Linked DNA regions of Homo sapiens: region 2 is linked to region 1. Evidence: promoter capture Hi-C in human tissues and cell types (Jung and others, 2019). All regions are on one chromosome and are shown on one strand. Each heading gives the region's core, a stretch centred on a gene start or on the middle of the fragment in contact. The rest is flanking DNA. Distances are from core to core; before and after follow the strand shown.

Region 1 (3,545 bases), core at 310-2,809:
CCCCGCTGCTTCCTCCTCCCTTGGCCCCTCCGGGCTCCGCTCTCGTCTCTCTTCGTCCTCCCCCGGCTCCTGCTGTGGCCCATCCCCTACCCTGTCCTCGCCAGCGTCTGCCCTTGCGTCCCCGGGGGCCGCTTCTTCGGACCCCTTTACCCCCGGGACCTCCGCCTCCTCCGCTGCGTCCCAGGCGAGCTCACCGGGGCTGCGCCCCGCACTCTCCCCGGCTGCGACCTCAATTGCCTCGGCCTGGGGCGAGAGGCTGCCGTCCCCCGATTGCTGCGGCTCACCCGAGACCCGGCGCGCCCTTCCTGCCGGACCCTCGGCGTCCATGCTGTCCCCCGCCGGGCCTTCGGCTTCTACGCTGTCCCCCGCCGGGACCCCCGCTTCTACGCCGTCCCCCGCCGGGTCCCCCGCCTCTACGCTGTCCCCCACCCGGCCCTCCGCGTCTACGCTGTCCCCCGCCGGACCTTCCGCGTCTACGCTGTCCCCCACCCGGCCCTCCGCGTCTACGCTGTCCCCCGCCGGGCCCTCGGCTTGTATGTTGTCCCCCAGCGGGCCCTCCGCGTCTACGCTGTCCCCCGCCGGACCTTCCGCGTCTACGCTGTCCCCCACCCGGCCCTCCGCCTCTACGCTGTCGCCCGCCGGGCCCTCCGCTTCTATGTTGTCCCCCAGCGGGCCCTCCGCGTCTACGCTGTCCCCCGCCTCCCCGGACGCGCTACCTTCCGGGACCTCAGGCCTCTGCTCCGCCTCCTCCTGCCTCTCGGGGGCCGCAGAGTCCTCGGGCTCCCTCTGAGCCTCCCCGCGGGGCTCGCCCTGCGCGCCGCGTCCCGGGCTCGCCCCCTCCACCTGCTGCGCGCCGCTTGTCTCCTCCCCTCCTTGGGGCACCTCGGCACCCTCCGGGGCTCCCTCCTCGGCCTCAGTCTCGCCGTGCGCCCCCCTCGTGCCCCGCGCCTCGGCCTCCGGGCCCCTGTCTGGCCCGCCGCCTCCTGCCTCCTTCACAGCGGCGGCGCCCCTCGGCGCCTCCTCTGCGCCCTCGCTCCCCTCCGGCCCTTCTGCCTCCCCGCCCGCGGCTCCTGGCTCTCCGGGTCTCTCAGCCAGAGGCGCGGGGACCTCCGGCGGCCCCTGGGGACCCGGGGCAACCCCCTCCGGCTCCGCGGCCTCGGCCATGGCCGCAGATCCCTGTCCTTGATCGGGACTCCTTCCTTGACGCTGCTTAAGGGTCGGTGGCGCTGGGCAAGGGGCGTGCTACGGGGCCCTCTGTGCTCCTTGAAGGACGCCGGCTCCGGGATCCTGCGGCAAAGGTTTAGCCGGGGCACTGGGGCCTTGCGCAGGACCCGCAGGGCAAACTCCGCTTGGCCCCAAGCCTCTGCGCCCCTTCTGCCCAGCTGAAACTCCCTGGACTCTTCCTCCACTGCTGGAGCTTCTCCCCGATTGCGCGTCTGCTTCCCACCGGGACCCCAATCTCGCCCGCGGGCCGCGGAGGTGCAGTGCACGGCTGGAGAGGGCTGCTTCGCTCCTGCGCCTTTGGAAGTGCCCGGCCCGCTGTCCGCTGTCCTGGGGTTGACCAGAAGTCCTTGGTGCCAACTCCATCCCCTGGGGCTTGGGCGGGGTTTGTCTTCCCCTCCTCCCTCCTTTGTTTGGGTAGCCTAGGAGCTTGGCCAATGACAGCCTTTCTCGTGACCCTTGTGGATGTTGATGAAAAGATTCTGGTTCTCCTGGCCGCTTGGGTGTTGTTCTCTAGAATGGCTTCAAGTTCCAGAGTCACTTAAATCACCCCCTCCAAACACACACCCCGACACCCAAACACCTAATCCCCACCTTACCCCAGGAGTGAAGCATCAAGCTCCCCCGGTACCCAACTGAAGATGTCCACATTGTGCCTGATGTCCAAGAGCAAGGGTGTAAATCCCTGAGAGAAGAAGCTGGGGAGGCTACGCTGGCCGCCTTCCCATGTCTGCAGGGCCCCCGGAGAGGTTCCAGAGGCCCCTCATATAGACGCACAAGGAGCCAGTCGAGTTTCTCTGACCAGAGATGGGCGCTGTTGTCCATGAGGGTCCGCTTCTCCGGGCCTGTCTGGAGGATCGTGGGAGCCCTGCGCTGGAAAAAGGTTACACCTTCATCTCCCGGGTCTCTTAAGACTGTAAGAGTCTGTGTATCTTGCTGATTCTCCTAGATTTCTAAACTCACCACCAGTGCTTCTGCCTCCAAGTTAAGAGCTTGGGAATCTGGAGGTGGAGAAAAGAAAATCCAAGATGTGAAAGAGGGGAGCTATGGAATTCCCTGGGTTAGGGTTCTCCCAGGATCACAGACCCAATACCTACTTTAAAAAGGAAGTTATTATGGTGAAAAGTATGTCGTAAGTTTATTATAAGCCAGGCTACTTCTAGTGGGTTACCAAGAAACTGGGTTACCCAAGGTGGCACTATGTAAATGTGGTGGAACGGGGATCCCAGCTCAAGACTGACTTGATTCATCAGGCTTTATATGGCTTTGATATTGGCCTAAGATACATGAGCCCCTCATGCCCACAGAAGGTTGTTTTCGTTGAAAGAGCTGGGTGTGCCTTTGATGTGGCTTGGGGTCACACCTTTGGCCATGAACATAATGTGTCTCCTTCTACTTCCCATTGCTCATCACTGATGGATGACAGGACAGGAGCCCAGAGACACTCAGCTTCATGCTACCTTTCTCCAAGGCTGTGCTCTGTCTGGGTAGGTACAGGCCAGAAGCTTCATCACCACAAAGTGGCATCTAGTCAAAGCATGACACTCACACAGGTGAGCCAGAGATGCACGTGAGCCGTAAAAGCTCTAGGCACCTAGAAAAGGAATCCTGCTGCATTCACCGGGGCAAGGTAGCAGCCATCACCCTTATCTTGTAAAGAAAGATGAAGCCAGCACGTTCAGCCCGGAACAGCAAACACAGTACAGGTTTACAGTGCTTTATGCAAATCCCATGAGCCCGGATGTGTTTCAGAAAACAGAATTGTTAGAAAGATGATTGAGTGATTTTACTGTATATTACATAACACAGAACATCACTTTGTGATCAAACACATTAATATTTCTGCAGTAAGACAGGCATCACATTTGGTGAGATATGGTAAAATCATACAAGCTTCAGGCCCCCCACCCCCAGTTTAGGTTCACCTCCAGCTGAGTTCAAGCCTTTCTGGTTCTGATTCTAGATGAGTTCCCAAAACAGCTTTCAGTATTCAGAGCCTTTTAGGATTTCAGAATGTGTATAAAAGGATTGTGGACCTGTGAACCATTGAAGGGCTCTGGGTTTATTTGCGCTGCTTAGAAAAATGTGAGATTAGTTAGATACATAACTTTGTCCTTAATAACAAACCGTCTTCAATGCTCAATGTTTACAAAGAACCAAATTAAAGACACTCATGCGAGTAATAATATTTAGCAAATTCTTTTAGCAAAGTCAGTAGATAAGAATTTCTGTCAATAGAGTGTCTTGTGACATTAGCTTACCCCCCAAAGTATAAAACTAACTGAGGAAAGTATTTTCCAAAACTAGTTCAGGTTGGTGCATAT
Region 2 (3,545 bases), core at 632-3,131, 1.0 Mb before region 1:
GAACTTGGAGGTGGCAGTACCTGGTAATGGTTAAGAACACAGGCTCTGGAGCCAGATATTGGTTCTGTCATTTACCAGCGGGGGGGGGGGGGGCACTCTGCCTCAGTTTCTCCACCTGTAAAATGGGGATAATGAGAGCACATATATCATGGGGACTGAAGGGGTGAGTAATACACTCTGACTCCTGTCCGGCACACATTAAAGGTCAAGTTCCTGCTGCTGTTATTGTTGTGATTATTATTAACTATATAACCACACAGGAAGAACCTTAGAGGTTGTCTGATCCAGCTGTCTCATTGTCCAGATGAGAAAACCCAGGCCTGTGTGTGTGGGAGAAATAATTTTTTATTAAAGATCCCTCAGCCGGTGGCCAGCAGAGATGGAAGGAGAGCCGTGGGCTCCTGACTCGCAGTTGGTCATTCGTCTATGTCAAGCCTGGGGAGCTGTGACCCTTTACCTTATTTTTAAAGGAGAAAACAGAATTTGGTCTGAAAGTATCTAATATGTAACCATATTGTTCCCAGAAACCAAGATCAATAATTCTGAACTGTATCAAAATGCCACAAGAAAGTAAATGATTCCACAACTTCAACCACAACACTGTGAGCATCTAGCTTTTGCAGAGCACCACACTGTGGGCTGGGGAAAGATAACCGCTGGTGGTTTTTCCCGTTCTTCAGAAACTTAAAGTTGATAGAGAAAGGACAAAGCAGAAAGAGCTTCAATAAAACCAGGATGGGCAGGTGCGGTGGCACATGCCTGTAATCCCAACACTTTGGGAGGCTCAGGCTGGTGGATCACCTGAGGCCAGGAGTTCGAGACCAGCCTGGCCAACATGGTGAAACCACGTCTCCACTAAAAACATAACAAAAATTAGCCTGGAGTGGTGGTGCGCACCTGTAATCCCAGCTACTCAGGAGGCTGAGGCATGAGAATTGTTTGAACCCGGGAAGGAGGGGTTGTAGTGAACCGAGATTGTGCCACTGAACTCCAGCCTGGGCAACAGAGGGAAACCCTGTCTCAAACAAACAACAAACAACAACAACAACAATAACAACAACAACAAATCAGGACAGCAGAACTAGCAGAACTTCTGTAGCGTGTGCTGTTTCACACACTGTCCTAAGTACTCTACATGTATAAACTCATTTAATCTCACCACTACCCTTTGAGGCAGATTGTATTATTAAACCCATTTTCCCGATGAGAACGCTGAGGCTTGGAAGTGTGTTATTTAGCCAAGGTCGCACACGAGGAAAAGGAGGAACTGAGATAGAGCCTCGATATCTGCCTGGCGTCTGTGTGTTTCACTCCAGCGTGACAGCGTCTTTAGCTAGAAGTGTCAGAACATTGGATTCTGCTTTTCCAATTGTTGCTAAACGTTCCTCTTGATGAAGTGTGCCTTACATAAAGCGTACAGATCTTTAGCATGTGCTTGTGGATTTTCAGAAGGCAAACACATCGATGTAACCACCAGCCAGGACAAGACGTAGAGTATTATCAGTGTCTCAAAGCCTCTCTCTGTTTTGACCATGAACTATTATTGTCTACACCAGTGTTTCTCCACCTTTTTTCATTATCTTCTCCCTGTTTTAAGCTTTTTAAGACATTGTTTTCTTGTCTCCCATGAAATTATAACACCACAGATATACTGTAAATCTGTTTATGTATCCTATGTTTATTTGTGCTACATGCATAAAAATAATAAGATATTTTTATTTCCCCCCCCAAAACCGCTTCTCATTTCCTTGGGTACCATATGGCCCCACCTTGGGAAAGCATGATCCAGAGTGGGGGTTCCTGGGTATGGAAGCAGAGGACACAAGGGGAAATTTCAGGGGCCTGAAATCTGCCTGAAGTGTACACAATACTGCCCATCTGTGCATTTTTCGGAGGCATTCTCCAGTGCTCTTAAGTCTATACAAAGGCTAAAGAAGATATCAGGTTTCCTGGCACAATGGGAGCCGGATCAGATTTGCCCCCATAGGCTTGGTTAGCTGCAAAATAAGCCCCTTGTTTGGCAGGGTGTGTGGTGGTCCTGTTTTGGTAGGTTCTTCCCTCCTCTGACCCACCCCACAGGAACTGTCCATCCAATCAGGGATGTTCATGCTCTGTGCAAGTCCTGTCCCTGTTGGTGTCATTAAGCAAGTAAACTGAGGCACAGTAAAATTTTAAAGCACTTATTGAGCAAACAGCAATTCATAGAGCAAACAGCAACCAAACCAGAGGTGGTTCATGAGCTCCACTGAGGGAAGATGGAGAAGGCTTTTTCTCCATCTGTCTTGCTCTGTCACCCAGGCTGGAGTGCAGTGGTACGATCTCTGCTCACTGCAACTTCTACCTCCTGGGTTCAAGTGATTCTCCTGTCTCAGCCTCCTTAGTAGCTGGGACTACAGGCGCATGCCACCACACCCAGCTAATATTTGTATCATTGATTTATTTTTCATAGAGACGGGGTTTCAGCATGTTGGCCAGGCTGGTCTCGAACTCCTGACCTCAAGTGATCCACCCATCTTGGCCTTCCAAAGTGCTGGGATTACAGGTGCGAGCTACCGTTCTCGGATGGGGGAGGCTTTTGAAGATGAACACAGAAGTAAAGCAAAGAGAAAACATTTGATTGGCTACAGTTACACAGTTGCCTTATTTGGTCTATCCCGCTAGAAAGTCCCTCTTTTTATAAGTTTGTTAGCTTTTTCTGATTGGTTAGGCTTAAGTTCTGTTTTTCTTTAATATAGGCATTTACAAGAAATAGCTTTAATTCAGTTTTGCTTATGTTTGCCAGTCGATGAAAGTTAAGGCTTGTCTACTCAGGGAGTCTTCAGGCTCAGTCTCCATTTTAATTTAACAGTGGCTACACTAGGTTCCCTTACTGTATAACAAACTGACCAAACTTAGTGGCTTAAAACAATACATATTTATTATCTCACAGTTGTCATGGTGCTGGGACCTAGACCCGGCTTACCTGGTTCTCTGCTTAGGGTCTCAAAGGTGGCAATCAAAGTGTTGGCTGCAGTGCCCATCTCAGCTGAGACCAGGGTCCTCTTCCAAGCCCACTGGTGGTTGGAAGAATTCAGGTTGTTGCATTTGTAGGACTCAGGCCCTCAGCTCTGAGGGGCCCCCACCATTCCCGGACACACGGCCCTCTCCATGGGTAGGTTGCAGCATGGTAGTTAGCTCCTGCAAGGCCAGCAGGGATCTCTGTAGTTATACTGGCAAAATGGAGTCATAGACCTCCATACATCAAGGGCAGGGGATTATATGAGGCATTGCATCTCGGGAGAGGAGCAGAGAACCATCTTAGAACCCTGCTAACCACAGTGTCTGTCTCCTAGGCTCAACCAATTTAAGGTCTTCTTCAGAGAGAGTCTCTCAGGTGAGATATTTCTGGAACATCTGCATTTCAGATGTTTCCATTTGAAAAAGAATTACTTCACAGGTCGTAGTGAAAAACAGGAGTTAATAGATAGCCGTTAAGATGAGAAGGGCAACTGGTACATAATAAGCACTTGATAAATGTTAGCAGTAGTAATAACATCATTGCTAGT

The links. The method cuts DNA at HindIII sites, captures the fragments that hold promoters and counts their contacts. A contact is called where the count stands out against the background at its distance.
Region 2: a contact is called between a fragment that was not itself captured here and the fragment with the promoter of CLIC6 in region 1, in 1 of the 25 tissues and cell types used here (dorsolateral prefrontal cortex).

Annotation. Positions count from the first base shown.
Region 1 is chr21:34,667,008-34,670,552 of GRCh38, reverse strand. CLIC6 (chloride intracellular channel 6) reads right to left here and starts at 1,559. Exons shown (of 6, transcript NM_053277.3): 1 at 1-1,559. The coding sequence starts at 1,164. RefSeq lists a silencer at 827-1,266. The HindIII fragment of the contact is 4,429 bases long and covers 1-2,920 here.
Region 2 is chr21:35,672,140-35,675,684 of GRCh38, reverse strand. No RefSeq gene overlaps it. Among named protein-coding and RNA genes, the nearest start is that of MIR802, 47 kb to the left of the region's middle. The HindIII fragment of the contact is 5,506 bases long and covers 1-3,545 here.